Linked DNA regions of Homo sapiens: all the other regions are linked to region 5. Evidence: promoter capture Hi-C in 16 types of primary human blood cells and fetal thymus (Javierre and others, 2016). All regions are on one chromosome and are shown on one strand. Each heading gives the region's core, a stretch centred on a gene start or on the middle of the fragment in contact. The rest is flanking DNA. Distances are from core to core; before and after follow the strand shown. Region 1 has its middle 110 kb from the start of ABCB5. Region 2 overlaps LOC101927769 (a long non-coding RNA gene). Region 3 has its middle 43 kb from the start of ITGB8. Region 4 has its middle 57 kb from the start of ABCB5. Region 5 holds the start of TMEM196 (transmembrane protein 196). Region 6 overlaps ITGB8 (integrin subunit beta 8).

What was found. Contacts are between HindIII fragments. The CHiCAGO score rates a contact against its expected background, and 5 or more counts as called.
Region 1: a fragment that was not itself captured here is called in contact with the fragment with the promoter of TMEM196 in region 5 in 1 of 17 cell types (total B cells); the score reaches 6.0 in total B cells.
Region 2: a fragment that was not itself captured here is called in contact with the fragment with the promoter of TMEM196 in region 5 in 2 of 17 cell types (total B cells and naive B cells); the score reaches 8.6 in total B cells.
Region 3: a fragment that was not itself captured here is called in contact with the fragment with the promoter of TMEM196 in region 5 in 1 of 17 cell types (naive B cells); the score reaches 5.5 in naive B cells.
Region 4: a fragment that was not itself captured here is called in contact with the fragment with the promoter of TMEM196 in region 5 in 7 of 17 cell types (total B cells, naive CD4 T cells, monocytes and 4 more); the score reaches 8.7 in total B cells.
Region 6: a fragment that was not itself captured here is called in contact with the fragment with the promoter of TMEM196 in region 5 in 2 of 17 cell types (total B cells and naive B cells); the score reaches 6.3 in total B cells.

The regions. Positions count from the first base shown.
Region 1 is chr7:20,504,589-20,507,377 of GRCh38, forward strand. No RefSeq gene overlaps it. Among named protein-coding and RNA genes, the nearest start is that of ABCB5, 110 kb to the right of the region's middle. The HindIII fragment of the contact is 1,050 bases long and covers 952-2,001 here.
Region 2 is chr7:20,307,012-20,309,732 of GRCh38, forward strand. The region is part of intron 4 of LOC101927769 (a long non-coding RNA gene); the gene reads left to right. Among named protein-coding and RNA genes, the nearest start is that of ITGB8, 23 kb to the right of the region's middle. The HindIII fragment of the contact is 1,183 bases long and covers 855-2,037 here.
Region 3 is chr7:20,286,527-20,289,226 of GRCh38, forward strand. No RefSeq gene overlaps it. Among named protein-coding and RNA genes, the nearest start is that of ITGB8, 43 kb to the right of the region's middle. The HindIII fragment of the contact is 3,649 bases long and covers 1-2,700 here.
Region 4 is chr7:20,556,811-20,559,598 of GRCh38, forward strand. No RefSeq gene overlaps it. Among named protein-coding and RNA genes, the nearest start is that of ABCB5, 57 kb to the right of the region's middle. RefSeq lists an enhancer at 2,672-2,788. The HindIII fragment of the contact is 1,127 bases long and covers 945-2,071 here.
Region 5 is chr7:19,772,329-19,775,258 of GRCh38, forward strand. It overlaps TMEM196 (transmembrane protein 196), which reads right to left and starts at 1,289. Exons shown (of 5, transcript NM_001363562.2): 1 at 222-1,289. The coding sequence starts at 368. All of the region lies in intron 1 of LOC107986774 (a long non-coding RNA gene), which reads left to right. The HindIII fragment of the contact is 8,082 bases long and covers 1-2,930 here.
Region 6 is chr7:20,344,909-20,347,608 of GRCh38, forward strand. All of the region lies in intron 1 of ITGB8 (integrin subunit beta 8), which reads left to right. Among named protein-coding and RNA genes, the nearest start is that of ITGB8-AS1, 14 kb to the left of the region's middle. The HindIII fragment of the contact is 3,054 bases long and covers 1-2,700 here.

The DNA of each region.
Region 1 (2,789 bases), core at 227-2,726, 730 kb after region 5:
TCCCAGGTTCAAGCGATCCTCCTGCTTCAGCCTCCCGAGTAGCTGGGGTTACGCCTGGTGGCACATGCCCAGCTAATTTTTGTATTTTTAGTAGAGACAGGGTTTCACCATGTTGGCCAGGCTGGTCTCTAACTCCTGACCTCAAGTGATCTGCCCACCTCGGCCTCCCAAAATGCTGGGATTACAGGTGTGAGCCACCACACCTGGTCTCTTTTAGCATCTTAAATTATGGAGAAATGAAAAGGGCACCAAGAAAATAAATAAAAATATGGATTCTGTAAGAAAGGGGTACTGAAGTTTTGGTTTTGTTTTCTTTCTTTTTTTTAATCTTGCAAATAGAAGACCACTATATTAATGCCTGCAAGTTGATGAAAGATAGTGCCCAGTGAATATCTGCCAAAAATTGAAAAGGAATTTGGCTTAATTTGCAACAATAGGATAATGTAGGTTGAATACACCTAAAAAAGAACACCATATCGACTACAACAGTAATTAAGTAGTTCACCTAGGCAAGGCTGTGGCCTTTTTTACCTTCAGGGAAATTTAAATGAGAGTGTCTACTTAGATAAGTCAGGCTTTTACACGTCTCAGGCAATAGGGGAACCAAGTGACCCCATAAAGTCTCTTCCAGCCCTTGGATTGATTATCCATTAAGAGTAAATTTGAAATCACAAACTGAACACCGAAAAATTATAAGCAACTTTTAACTAGAATGCACATTTAGATTTTAATTGAGCCATACTGAAATCATGGTTCTGGCTGATAAAAGTATCTCAAAAAATAAATTTTAAAAAGATTAGTAGAAAACAAATATATATGGGCACATTTAGCCCCAAGCTGCCAGTCCAAGTTGTAATAATAGTATAAAAATTAGTCTGTGGTATAACAAGCAAATGGTTGTAGACAGAACTGGGCAGTATTTTTAGACATAAACCCCAAGAGAATTAATTAAGCTTTGAAAAACATAATTGAACTAGGTATTTTTATAAACATACTAGAACATCTGATGCATACACACGTGAATGTGCAAAATAGCTAATTATATACACTGTTTATAAGTCTGTCTCAGCAATAAAGCAGAGATTCCTCTATTTGTGGCCCAGTGAAAAAATTTGTTGCTTCTTATCCTTTTGTTTTGGTCAACATTTTAATTGTTCAGTAGCACTTATGGCATGAAACACCGAGGGGAAAAATAAAAGCTGTAAAACTCATATTCATTAGATCTCACTTATAATTTTGGACTTGTTTTGCGAACTTCACAAACTATTTATGAACATGATATATAAAATTTTTTTAAGTGTTTCGAAAATGTAAGGGCTTTAACCAAAAGAAACTCCTGAAATATTATTTCCCTTACTTAATAATTTAAAAGTGGCTGAAAAATGAGAAGTGGTCCACATTTTCACTTTCTTATGAGAAGCCAGCCCTTCTCATTTGCTAGACATTCACAACTACATATTCACTTAGACTGAAGGTAGGATATAATTAATTCCTACATTTTTTAATGTATCCATTCCTTCTACTAGACTATGTACTTTTATGAAGAGGACTGTATCTCTATATTCAGTGTCTGGCACATAGTAGGTATTCAATAAAGGCCAAGAGGATATTGAAAAAATGATTGAACACATCCCCTTGGAAATGAAGTACATCAAAATACAAGTATTTTCAGTGCAATTCTCCCTAACACTATTTCTTGAAAGGCCAAATGGTGAATGGGGTAAGATGGGGTCTGGCCTATGCGAAGAATGAGTCATTAAATGGCCTTGCAGATAAGGACAGAAATGCAAGTTTTCAAAGGACTCCTTAGAGCTTCCATCATGAAACAAGGTCACAGGAAGCAAGGGATAATTGATAACATCTAAAACCTAGAACATAGGGTTTTGGGGTAAGATATGAGATAGCGGGTGATATGTTTGGATAAATAGAGTATTAGAAAGAGTTCAGATAGTTCATACTTTAAAGAACTTATTATACAAAACTAAAGAGTGAACAAAGAGAAGCTTAAGGTACAATCAGTATTATTGAGCAACAAAGTGATATAAATCTTATCTTCGTAGGTGGCCCAGAAAACAGATAGTTTTGAAGATTAAAAAAAAAAAGGGAGAGAAAGACCACAGAAAATTGCATTAGTGGAGTTTTCAGACCTGACCCAGTGGAATAAAAATGAGGAGAAAATGTTGAAGTGAGGTTAATGAAATATTTTGTAGTTAAGAGTTGAAAAGATATGATGGCTGGTTAGATACAGAATGAGAGAGAATTTAAGTTTAAAATGAACATTTTTGGTTTGGGAAACTAGATAGGTGGTGATCTGTTAAAAATATGAGAAGTTTAACAGGTGTGATTTTAGGAGAGGACGGAAAAAGGCACTTGGAATGTGGATCTGGAGCCAAAGAGAAGGCTGGGAAAAAAGGACTGGGAAAAAAGACCGAGAAGTCATTAGCATGTGTGGGGTGTAAGTGTGTGTGTGTGTGCGCGTTGGAAGTGGAAGCCATGGAGTGGATGAAACTTGCAGCCCTCCCTTTCTTCAGCTGATTTGTAGGTACAAATATTCTTCTGGAGTAGGTGAGGCATGGGGATATTTGGTGGTAAGAGATGAATCGGAATGGCTTTTTTCCCCAAAGGTCCTCTGCTACCTACTAGATCTGGAGGTACATAACACAATGATGAAGAATTCAGAAAGTCACAATAAGAACAACTAAAGTACATTTAATCACAGCCCTGCCCTTGAAAATACCCACCTGGCAAGCATAATGCTATACTGTGACTTTACAAGAAGTAATCATTCA
Region 2 (2,721 bases), core at 196-2,695, 530 kb after region 5:
CAAATAATCACCACAATTAATATGTTTTGTGGATTTTAACTTTTTTAATGAAAACAAACTTTTGCATTTTCTCTAATGAGAAAAAAGTATAGTTTCCTTTTGTTTTATTTATTTTTTCATCATTTGATAAGGCACAGGATCAAGTTATTCTTTTTGAGATGCCATAATATGCTAGGTATTGGAATGGCCAGCTAGCACTTGCATTGTATAGTTAACATTGTGCTATAAGCGTGGTTCTTTCTAAAAGCTTTCAGTACTGTTTATAGTTTGTGCTACCCAGTTCCCATGGTAACGTGTTTGTTCCCATGGAGAAACAAAGTGAACACCTAACCAGAGCTGAACTTGAAGATATAAAACTTCACTCAGTAGATAATTTGCTCAGAGGCTATTAAGGAGGAGAAGGAGAAAACAGAAGAACAGAAAATATATCTAGGTTTCTAGTTCCAGTTCAAAGTTAAGAAACTACTGATTTACTTTGACCTGCTATGTAACAAATCATTCTTGGTGTCATTATTTGCAACTTTAAGGAGACCTTTTTTTTTTTTTTCTCAAAAGCAATTTTAAAAGTAACTACTTAGACAAAGGGCCCTTTTTAATGGTGATTTGATAGTTTATCTTAGCAATTTGGTCCTTGTAGTTGCAAACTGTATTTCCATATTTCAAGAATTTTTAGAATTTTCATAAAACCATCTAAATTCAAGTAAACTTGATTTCTTAAAAAAACTATAAACTAAAGCAATAAGAATGTGAGCAAATGATCATAAGATTATCTTTAATGAAAACAGATTCTTTGCTTTCTTTAATGCCCAGAATTTTTCAAGCCTAGCTATTGCCAGTTTATGCCATTTGAAAAAAGCTTGAAAGCTGCAAAAGGATGTAAATTTAGCTGCTTTGGTTTAACGTGAGGAAAGTTGATAGCCTTTGTTAAGGCTGACACTACCATGCCAAATTCCTAACAACGTTACAGCAGGACTTTGAATGCCAGTAAAATAATTCACATCCATTTGCAAGCTCCAGTCAAGTGGCATAAACTCCACTTGTAGAAGACAAAGCAAAATGACTGGGCTCCTCCCGTGGCTCTGGCTCTTCACTCTGCTGCCGCCCTCCCTCCCGAATGTTGATGTTTTCTCCCCCCACTTTATAATCTAGACACTTGCTCCCTTTCCATTTGATACTACTTCTTTGTTTGCTGTTCTTCAGCCCTCTTTGTGCTTTTCTGACCTCCTTTTTTTCCATTCTGTGCCGCTGTTCCTGTTCTACATTTCATCATTTTTTTCTCCGGCTTCACTTTTGTGCATTACACTCTTCCCACTTCAATCTTTAGCCATTTTTGTATTGTCCCGACTTTCATTCTTCTTATTTACCTTTAGTTTATATTCTTTCTGACCGCCTTTTCTTCTTCTCTTTGCAGCCCCTCTATTAGAAGTTCGGCATTTTGCTCCAACTTAAAAAAAAAAATGTATTGTTGCTGGATGACATTCTTTTCTCACTCCTTCTGTGTATTATTTTTCAATAGTTGTTTAAATCCCAGTCCCACTGACTTCGTGCAAAGGATTATGATTAAAGCGATTTTGAGTATTTCTTTAATATAGTAAAATGTGAAAAAAAGTTGCCTTAGAAAACAGCATTCTAAATAGACTGCCTTTAAAAATAAATAAATAAATAAATAAATAAATATCTGTCCCATTTGTAGATTCACAGGGAATAAAATCAATGAGATCTGCCAACTTCTATACTTGTCTACATCAGACATCATTCACCCCAATGAAATAGTGAAGAGTGGGACTCAAATTGGCAAGTCTATCCTGCTGAATTGTTGCCACTCAAGATAAAAATAACTTTCTCACATTGTATGGTCCACTAGCAAGCAGCAGAATAATGGTGTATCCCAAGATTAACTGTGGTTTCTGAAGCAATTATTGTAGGGAGATGGAACAGAAAGGTTTTTTCTCTTACTTACTTTTGTGTGGTATTGGAGACAGGAGGCATGTCCATCATTTTATACTGCTTATTACATACGAAAAATCAAATAATGAAAGCTTTCACAATACGGAGGTTTTCTCTAACCTCCTATCATCAAATAGGCATACACTTTGAATTGATTTTTTTTTAAGTTTTGGGAATTGGATGTTCATCTTTCTTTTATTGACTTTCATCTCATTTTCAAAAGTGTGCAATAGTATATTGCACGTGAAAGTAAATGGCCCACTAAGATTGAAATGCATTGCTTTGAACTAAAGAGATATAAATTCTAATATCTGAATTCTTCATGGCTATATACATGTATACTAAGTCCTTTTGCATAGTGGCTGACTCTTTACGCTTTTGGCATATTTGAAGTTAAATTTTAATTCATATTACATTTATTAAGTACTAAGAAGACACACTCACCTACTATTTTAGAATTGTTTGTAAGTTTTAGGTCTTGTAAGTTTATGAAAACAACACTGACACACCATAATATATACTGGTTTCATAGCACTTAACAGATTTGGTAAATTTTACCTACAAGAAAATCAGTTCTTTGAGTTTTTCTTAGGTTACTGATTTTGCATTTAAAAGTTTTTACCTTGATTAAAGACTCCAGGTTTTCTGGGGGACTGTGTAGTTGACTTAAAAACTAACCACTATTATACAAAATTTTAGTTGAGAGAAACTATCTGTGTCTTCTTTTTTTTATTGCTATGATTATAGAGCCAACACACACAATCATGTAGGTTG
Region 3 (2,700 bases), core at 19-2,518, 510 kb after region 5:
TGTATGTCTCACTATGTACAATTTTCTAAAGCATAATAAATTATACAGAGTATATAATTGAAAGATGAATAATTCTCACAGCACCTTAATTGACCCAATTATTCATTATAGACAAAATTGGAGGAAAATAAAAGAGCAAGAAAGGGTATGACATCATTTGCGGATTATGTAACAGCTAGGCTTGATTTTATTGTTGGCTCTAGTTAAATATTTTTTTTAAATAAAACAGTGCCTACTTCTCCAACATTAACTATACAAAAAACTTGACTTCAGTATTTATCAAGGTATAGGCCTATATAACATTGCTTGCTTCCTTGAATAAGTAATATTTGGTGTCTTTGTCACTTTGGGCCCTTAGCAAGTGATGCTGTAACTGGCAGTGAATAATTTAAGTCACTGCTCTTGAGAAGCCTCTTTTGTTTGCAAGGAGCAAAACCCTACTCAAACTAACTAGAAAAGCTAAAAGAGAGGTTTATTGGAGAATATTAAAATACCCAGGAATCCTAAGACACAAAATGAAGCATAGTTGGCTTTTTGTGACCTGGGACTAGAAGTAGAGAAACCGAGGTCTTTCAAGAACTGCCTTTATAGTTTCTTGTTATTTTCTATTTTACTCTACGAATATGTTCAATATGTAATTTTTTATCGCCTTCCTTTATGGCAACAAGCCCACTCTATATTACCTAACCTATCAGTTCTAACTCTAAATTCTGAATTATCCGTGTTCCTCAAAACCTTAAGTCCAAATTTCTGAGAAAGAAATGTGATTGTTCTTTTCTTTAATGTCTGCTCAGAGTCTGTCACAATTGACTGTCATAGACAACTAGTCAACCTGTGGATTCATTTAGCTGTGACTATAGTAGGGTAGGGTCATGTGATCAACTAGAGCAGCAGGTGGGGAGATAATAGTTAACACCTCTCATGAAACTGGTTAAATATAAACCTCAGACTGGTAATAGATAAGAATCTGTTTCTTCCTGTGTAAAAAACAATGTTTACTTAATATTTGCTTTTCCTAGCCTTAAGTTGTATCTCTAGGAATAAATGGGTTAATACAATGGAAAACACATGAGCGATCATAAAGTTTTGGAATACAATCAATAACAATACATCTACTGTCAACCAAACTGTTGATAAAAAGACAAATTACACATAGGTGAGAATCATAGTCTCTCACGATGTTGGGGGACTTCATATAGATGATTTTCCAGTGTAACTTAGATGAAATCAAATATCTGACATAATTATTAAGTATTTGTCTTCCTTCCCTGGTCACTCAAGTCATGGTGCCTCTTCTAGAACAAGTGAAGAGCTGAATCTCTCACCCTGATAGACAAAGTCTGAGGGATATACACTGATTTTTACATTTTGTTCAAATGTATCTCTTATTGCAGATTGAATTTGGCTTGGAATTTGGGTGCTTGCTTTGACTTTTCATTGTTTCCTTATTTGTATTTTATTTTTCTTTAGCTGCTGCTGGTTCTGGTGGTTTGTTTATTTTGTACATTCTATTTTCTAGAAATCTATCACTGGTGAGTGCTTAAAAACAACACAGACCAGAGAAGAAAGAAAGGAGTAAAGAGTTCAAGCCCGGATAACAATGGGACTAGTCCAAAAGTTTGCAAAAACAAAAGGAGATCTGTTGAAAAATAAGTTATAGATGCTTGAAGTCTACATTTATTTCTTCTTATTACTCATTTTGGAATGGATGCTACATTCTTTGTAGGTTCAAAATATCCTCAGAATCCCAAGTATGTGATAAGACCTAGAAAGGGCATAATTAAGCCTTTGTCATTAAGACAGATCTTTTATTCACCAATTTTAACAGTGTATTACAGCCAGGCACAGTGGCTCATGCTGTAATCCCAGCACTTTGGGAGGCCGAGGTGGGCAGATCACCTGAGGTCAGGAGTTCGAAACCAGCCTGACCAAAATAGTGAAACCCCGTCTCTACTAAAAATACAAAAATTAGCTGGGCATCATGGCATCTGCCTGTAATCCCAGCTACTAGAGAAACTGAGGCAGGAGAATCGCTTGAACCTGGGAGGGGGAGGTTGCAGTAAGCCAAGATCATGCCATTGCACTCCAGCCTGGGCAACAAGAGCAAAACTCCATCTCATAAAAAATTAATAATAATAAATAAAATAAAAACATATTTATGTTTTCAGCAGTTTATATTTATATACGACCATCATTCTCCAAATTTAATTATAATTGCCCATGGAAAATATTTGTTGTAACCAATCACGACACAGACTATAGAACTAGCTAGGGTTTTGAAAAGCAAATTTCAGCACTCTTCACAATAGCAAAGACATGGAATCAATCTAAATGCCCATCAATAGTAGACTGAGTAAAGAAAATGTGGTACATATACACCATAGAATACTACGCAACCATAAAAAACAATGAGATCATGTCCTTTGCAGCAGCGTGGATGGAGCTGGAGGCCATTATCCTAAGTGAACTAACACAGAAACAGAATATAAAATGCCACATGTTCTCACTTATAAGTGGAAGCCAAACACTGAATACATGTGGATACAAAGAAGAGAACAACAGACACCAGGGCCTGCTTAAGGGTGGAGGGAGGGAGGAGGGTAAAGATAAAAAAATCTACCTATTAAATACTACGCTTATTACCTGGGTGGTGAAAGAACGTGTACACCAAACCCCAGTGACACACAACTTACGTATACA
Region 4 (2,788 bases), core at 258-2,757, 780 kb after region 5:
ATACTTAAGAGGACCACAATTTGGGGCTGGAAATACCTAGGGAAGGTGAAACCGAACTGTGAATTCAAAGGGAATGACTAATATGGCAGCCAAGGAAGTATGGCAACCATGCTTTGTAAGCAGTTCACATGCAGGAATCCGATCGCAATCCATGGGGCATCCCATAAGACAAGCTGAACATTGCTAGGAAATCCACCGATGGCAATGGTCAACTTTTATGTGAAAAGGCTAACAGCTAACACCAGAGAGGACTATCTGCAGAGGATAGCACTCCAGCCACCTAGCCAGGGCTTAAGAGTAGGCTGTAGCCTCTGAGTCCCAGGCTATTTTTGCAAGCTTATTCTGACAGAGAACAGACCTATGACAGTGCATCTCAACTTTCTTACATCTTGCTACAAAAAGAAAATCATGGTATTTTTATCCTGAGAAGAAATGGATGAAGCTACTCATAGCAAAGGCTCTGACCACGCACCACATCTGTAACCCTCTACCTCCACATGACAGATAGGAAGCTCCAGTCTGCAGAAAAGTCTGAAGCTTGGTTCTCTAAATGTGGCCTAAAGACAGAGCCAGAGGGAAGGAAGTAAGAGGATCCTAAGGTTCAGACTCAGGGTTAGTGAGGGATCCAGTGTAACTGAGCTCTGCTTAGAAGGCAGATGGCTCTGATCATGCAAAGAAAAGACTTGAAGAGGACACTGAAATGAGCAGAGCAGGGGGAAAGAACAGGGAGCAAACAGGCTTGGGAAGTCAGAAAATTAAGCTTGCATAATTTTACCTAGGCTCAACAGTTGCAGTGTTCCCTTTAAAAAGAAAACATAATCATATTGTTCAAGCATTCATTCATGCAACAAATATCATTGAATCTGTACCACATGATTAATATAGTTTCAGCACTACAAATATACCCATGGGCAAAACAAACACGATCAGGTCTCTAACCTACAAGCTTGAGTCTACTGAGGAAGCCTGATATTAAGTAGTAAGTTCAGATTTTTTTCTCACACATTATGGTAAGTACTATATGGGAAAAGAACTGGATACTTGCTCTGAGGGAGAACAATAAAACCAAGAAACTAAGTACTTTAGATTAAGAGATTAAAAGATGACCTTTTGGAGGAAGGTATATTAAGGTATTCTAAGAAGACGCAGTAAGAAAACATTAGCAATTCTTTTAAAATGCTTTAAATATAAACAAAGTTTATTATTTATATATTATATATACATACAATATTATATATTGTTATGTGTGTAGTAATACATAGTAATATATACAGATGCAGGATTATTGTACAACAGCTAATGACAGACAACTAAAGCCTAGTTAAAAAAAACTGCTTATACTATGAAATATGAAACACCATTACTGGACTCTTACTTTTCTTCTTATATAGAGTAACAGTTAATATTTCATAAAAATATTTAAAGACTCAAGAGAAAAAGAGGGAAAAGAAGTTGCCAGATTTTACTTCTAAATGTATATACTTTTATACCTATGTGTTTCTACAAAAGAAATACTTAATCTTGGTTAATCTTTATGCAATCTTAATATATAACAGCTAATCTGACCAAATAAACTTAGATAGGCTTCACGTTCAAGGGCAGAGTTTTCAAGCTGATAAAAACATTCTGCGCACTAGTGGATGCACCTAGCTCTGAGAAGAATGTCAGTGTAATTGCAACTATTTATAGAATAAGCAGAGAAATTCATTCTGCTATAATATACAGTCTAATTTAAAATGTAGTCAATTCCTAAAAGAGGGTAAAAATTCTAAACTTTGAAATGATGCAACAGGAGGCTAGTGGGCTAATTTTGCTTTTGTATACAAAAGTTTGTGAGCATCTAGAAGGAAATATAAAGGGGTGCTCTAAGTTGCTAGTTATGTATCATGTACAATTTGTGAAAATCCACTCAGTGTACGTGAATGATTTGCATAAACTTTTCTGTTTGTATATTATATATCAATTAAAAGTGGCTCATTTGTTGTTTTTGTTTTGTTTTTAGTTTGAGGGGGAAAAATATCAAGTTCAGGGAAACTTTATCTGGGACACTAGAACAAACTCCTAAAAGGAAAGCTTGGAGTAACTTTCACAAAATTGGAAACTAGTTGGTAAGACAGTTCCAAGTATATTACTTATTGTAAATAAATATACAAGGTGCGATATACAAGAGGTGCACAAAAGCAAATAAAGTCAGAAATCACTGTATTTACCTAAAAGAAAATTTCACTGTAACTGCAGCCTTTAAAAATCAGTGTCATCCTTTAACCTGTATTCTAATCATATTACAGCTTTATCTCACATATGGTCTTCATTTGCAACACCTGGAAAGTTTTATATTTGTGCTTTTGCAATTTCAATCACTGATGCCTACGGCAACTACTCATAAAACTGTAAACACTGCACTTGCCTCTTTCAGTTATAAATAAAGAAGAAAAGTAATCGGATGCTTATGTCACAGGATTCTTAGGGTGTTTCTTTTCCAGCGGGAAAAGCTCTGTAACCGGTGGTGTCCTTGCCCGAGTTTTGCTTGAGCCTGCTGGGCTCATTCTGCCCACTCTGCCCGGCAGCCTGCGCTCACCTCATGCTACCAGCCCGGATCCCATGCCTGCTAAAGGTGAGCCACATGCAGAGTGGCGAGGGGTGTGTGGGTGAGCAAACGTGGGGTCCGGCCACTGTGCACAGCCAGGCACACTGGCTGCCGAGGGACACGCAGCTGTAGGCGCCAACACAGGTGTCGGCTCCCTGTGAAGCTGCGGCTGGACCAAGCATACTGCAAGCAGCTCCCGCT
Region 5 (2,930 bases), core at 39-2,538:
GCCCAAGTAAGAAACAAAACAAAACAAAACAAAACAAAACAGAAAACGAATAAAGGACAATATAAAGAAGCATAGCTTGTCAGCATGAACCTACATGCAAGCCAGAGATCTATGATTTTGTTTCCCAGGGAGGGAGTGACTAATGCGCGCACCCTGACCATCACCGTAAAGAGGTAAAGAGAGAGTGAAATGGCTCAACGTACACACACCCCGCTCCATACCGGGGACGAGTCTCCGAGCTGCGGCTTGTGCTCTCGGAGGGCCAGGCTGAAGCTGACCGCCCCCACGGCCACGCTGGACACCCCCAGCCCTATCTCCAGCACGGAGAGCACCAAGAGGCTCCCAATAATCTGACCGCTGGTGCACATCCTTCCTCGGTCATCTTCCTTCCAGATCAGAGAGGGAAATCAACCATCTACCTTTTTTTCTTCCACTATCCTCCTTACCCCTTCCACCCCCTACCAGATCCCAAAACTTTTCTTTCTTCAAGAGCGAGGCATTATCCACAAGGGCTGGATTTCCAGAAACGAAGACCTTCCCTGGCTGGGCCAGAGGCAAAGGAGCTGCTCCACCCCCTGGCACGTTCAGATAGGGATCGTAGAAGGATCTTCCTGGGTTCGGTGGTGCGAAGATTGCACACCGGTACCGGGGCTTTTAAGCAGCGGAAAACCTGGAGGAGCCCAGGGAGCTCCGAGCCTTGCTCCCCAGGCGCTGTCCAGAGTTCTGCCGCGTCCCAAATCTCCGCAGGGAAACCCGCGCCCTCCTCAGCCTACTAGACCCTTTCACAGGGTCCCTTCTGTTTTATTGCCGAGGAGAGGAGCTTTGCTTCCCGGAGATCCAAAGGGAACCGCTCCGAGTTTCTCTCTCCCTCTCCCGTTCGTCACCTCTCCTTTGTTTTCGTGGCAATGCGAAGTGCTTCTGCAAGTCTCTGGGTCCCCAGGCAGAGCGGGCGGATGATATTCAGCACCACGCTCCTTGCAGTTGCTTTGTCGCCAGAAAAAGCGACCTTGTCTGATGGCCTCTTTCCGTCTGGGTTTCTTCTCCCTCGTCGTCGTCCTCTTCCTCCTCCTTTCTCTCGAGCTGATTCTCTTTCATTGCTATGACCTCATTGGGGTTTAGGAGGTTGACGGAGGAGGAAAAAGCCTAATGTATTTGTAGATCCAGGACCAGTACTCTTGGCTGGCCTTTGATCCGCCCCGCCCCCGGACCGCAGCAACAGAAATCCAGGCGACCCCTACCTCCGCTTCTCCCCGTGGCTCCTTTCTGGGCTTCTATCCAGCGGAGAGGGGAGGCGATGCCTACGTCAACGCGGGCTCATTCTGAGAAAAACTTTCTTTAGCTTGTACGCGGGGTAGGGGGAGCAGTGAGCAAAGAAAGACGGAAACCCCAGGGGGGTGGAAAAAGCCAGACTCCTAATGTCACTAGGACTCTCAAGGCCCCTCACCAAGGAACTCCCCTGTCTAGGAGAGCTAGATTCAAGCCTGCTTACAAGGAATGTCCACTCCCGGCCATCACAGCCTGTCACCTTCCGTGTCGTAGGGCGAAGAAGCAGTTGATGGGGGCCACACCTCCACGGTGATTTTGTTCCTCTCCAGCCACAGACCCTTGCTTTCCCCTAGGAGCGTGACCACACGTTCTGGGAGGCATAGCTAGACCCAACTGAGCTGGGATTATATATTCTCAACAAAATTCAAGAGATGTGTATGCATTAGAACAGGCATTATTTAAAAAAAAAACACGTCTGGCTTAATGCACAATTATTTTTGACAGTCTACTTTCATCAGAATCTTTAGGGCAGGGGCCAGTCCAGCTTGGCCTGGGATATTTTTGCATTGTCTTTTGATGCCTATGAGACTCTAGATGTCTAGGGATCGCTGTGTTTAGACCCCATTTTCATTACTCTAGTTTTATGAAAAATCTCAAGGTATTCTATCAAGGAGATCTAGGAAGTGGGATAAAGAGAGGGTTTTGGGTGTGGGTCATCTTTCTCAAAAACTGGGTTCTCCAGTTCGACATGGACTGAAGGAAAATAGAACAAAGGAAGATGAGGTTAGGGTACAATAACACAAGACTAGGGAATGTTGACTTCTATACATCAGTGCAGTGCAGGCGCCTCTATTAGAGGCTTCTTAAAGCTCCCATGATGAGAACATAAAAGCTCGGTGACCTATAGCATAAGTTCTGTAACATAAATGCCAGTTTCAGTTTTCTTAAATTTGATTAAGGGCTTCTTTTAGAGTTTAAACTCAATTCTACACTATAATTTTTTTCATATGTTTATATTCTATAATTTAAAAATTTGAATCCTTTTCTCTTAAAAATAAAACAAATGTAAGGAAGAAGAGTTACAATTTGTTAGGCCTTAAAGAGCTTCAGTTATTGTGATATTTGGAGTACAAATAAACATTGGTACTGAATGATAATTAGTGGATTCATTTCTATGCTTTTAAATCCTCAAAGACATGCTAAAGTACCTCATTAGTGTATGGCTTTAATGATGTAAAGTTTATTTAATTTAAATAATACAGAAGTCATCTAAATGATCCAATTTATATGCATAAATAATACAGCATATATGTTGTTGAAGTTTTGCTTTGTGTTTAGTCACTTCTTTTCTTTAGGAAAAAAATGCTTCTCTGTTAGGAAGACAACAAGTTGTAATATTAAATGAATTGATTAATGGAGACATATAGGAAGGGAAATAAACTTTTGTAGAGAACACAGGGATGGTATTAACAATAGTTGAATTTCACAGAGAAAAAGAAACAAACAAAACATATATTGCGGTTAACATTTTATCTCTGAATGTGATGGCTTGGAATATAAGATTGGTTATCATATGCCTGATAAAAACCAATCCTGATTGATTCTGGGTCATTGGTTAGAAATCCAAAACTTTTGATTTTGTATATGGAAGAAATTCAACTCAT
Region 6 (2,700 bases), core at 50-2,549, 570 kb after region 5:
GGGAACCAAACAAAAAGATCTGCTCTCATGGAGCTTTCGTTCTAATGGAGAGAGACAAGACATTTGACAAATTAAAGAAACAGAATGTATAGCACACCAGACAGCACTAAGTATCTAGCACCTTCTGTAGAGAGAAAGAAACCCAGATGGGTAGTCAAGAATACTGGAGAAGGAGGTATGATCTTAAGTAGGATAATTAGGAAGGTCTCACTGAGAAGGTGCTGAGCCAATTCCCAGGGCCTCAGGGAGGGAAATATGAACAATATATCATCTGCCTCAATGATATATAACTTTCTAGGAGGATATTGACATTGTAATCCAATAAATTCTATAATTTTAAAATCTAAGATGTGCTAATTATTTAATAAATATTTTTCAACAAGTGTGTGGAAAGTACCATTCAAAGTATGAAAACATTAGGAAACTAAAGGACAAAAGTTCTTGTCCTCATAAGTCTTATATTTTGGAGGAGGACAGACAAAATAAAAAAAAACATGGTTATACATAATTATCTAGTGTGTTCAAAGGTGGTAAGTGCTATGGGGAAAAGTGGAGCAGGGTTGGGGGAAGACAGAGTTGCCATTTCAAGTAGATTAGATGGGGTAAGCCTCATGAAAAAAGACCAGTGTTTGAGCCAAGCCCTCAAGACAGTAAGAGAGTTAGCCTTGTGGATAACTGGAGAAAGGGTAGAGAGATGAGAGGCTATGAAGCAATGTGAGAAATTTTTAATGCATAGCAGGATCGAAGGACTGGTAGTGGCAGATTGTTGGTATCTGGAGCCCAGGCAGAGTGAATCAGCTTGTAAGACAAGAGGTGGTGGTCAGACAGGGTGATATGTGAAACTGGAATTGTAGAGAAGTTGCAGTTACTGGTAATTACAAGGTCTAAATTTCTTAACATGGAAGCAAAGTAGCTAAATCAAGGTGGAGGACAAAATAATTAGAGGAGAAGAGAATAAGGAGCTGATGCATCTTGTATTGCAAAGATGATGTGTGTATATACAAAAATTGTCAGGAATTGACATAGGAGTATTGTTGGAGAAAATTATATCAAGCAAGGAGGCAACATTTTCTAAAAACGAGAAAGCATCTCCCTGTGGTTGGTAAATGTCAGTGAATGCCTGCAACAATTCAGGATGGTGGGTGACATAATGTAAGTTACAAGTGTCAAAGCTGGGGGTGGGATGATTAGGGGATGAGAGAGGGAGAAGTGCCTGTGAGTAGCAGTGAGGACTCAGGAAGACACTTATACATCTCCAAGCTCAAGGCTGTTAGGATTCTGGGAGAAACATCAGCGATTACTCATGAGGTCAGGGGAAGACAAGTTCTCAGGGGAGAGCCAGGTTTCTGTTCAAGCAAGACAAGAGAACATTCAGATAAGGGACTGGGATATGGGCAGTCCTTCTGGAAATGGACTATGAATTTCAGAGGGCACAGGGGATGGGTTTCTGGAGTTGTAAAGGAATAGGAGATAAGGAGAAAAGAGGGCTGTGCAGAGCCTTCTAGGGATTAGAATGTGTTGGGGGAATAAGGGTGCATCTGGGAGTCTTGGGCTTCTTGTAGAAACTGGTGCAATAAACAGGGATAAGTGAGATTAGTCTTTGGGATCTCAAGGTAGATAGTGGTGATGATACTGTCAGTGGCTGAGGGGCAAGGGGAGGTTCTGAGACTTGCTCTTAATTCTTAGGGAAGGAAGAGACAAGGTCTGAGGAAGCCTGACTTAGTTCTGAAGTGAGGCGTTGACTCTACCCCGTTTCCTGCCAAAAGCAACGTGGACTTTCTCTGGGTGTCTTAAGACACTCTTGACTCCAGATGATTAAAGTGATTGCCTGAGAAGTATATAACACCTGACGATTATACCTGAAGGGGGCTCCACAGGCAGAGAGGAGGCATGTACATTGACCATGACATAGGACTTTAGGAGAAAAGCAAAGGAGAGCACCTTGGAGTTAATGGCAGGTAGATTTGTTAGAACTTTATGCTATGGTCTAAATGTTTTTGCTTCTCCAAAATTCATGTGTTGAAATCTAATCATCAATGTAATGGCATTAAAGGTGGGGCCTTTGGAAAATGACTAGGTCATGAAGATAGGACCCTGGTGAATTGTATTAGTGCACTTATGAAAAAGGCCTGTGGGAACTCGTCTGTCCCTTCTGCCATATGAAGACACAGCAAGAAGGTGCCACCTATGAGGAAGGCTCCCTCGCCATACCACCACATCTGTTGCTGCCTTTGTCTTGGACTTGCCGGATTCCAAAACTGCGAGAAATAAATTCTGTTATTTGTAAATTACCCAATCTAAGGTATTTTGTTATGGCAGCCTGAATGGACTGAGATACTTTACTACTCAGGTGGTGGAAATAATTCCAGGCGTTTTGTTTTGTTTTGACTTGATTGTTTAGTAGGGTAGTAATGTGATCACTGTATCAGCAAAAGAAACTGGCAACAATGTATGTGGTGATTTTTAGTGGTAAATGGTGTTTGTAAGAGATTCTGAGAACGTTGTTACATTAAAGCAAATGATCGATAAGGAAGGCCTCAACTAGGATGGATCCATGGGAATGGAAATAGGGAGTGAGAAATACTAAAGACAGTAAATTAAAAGCAAAAAGTCTTGGTGACTGACAGGTTGTTGAGGCTGTGGTAGAGAGAGGAGTCAAGGTTGACCACAAAGATTTAAATCAGAATAGATGGGAAAATA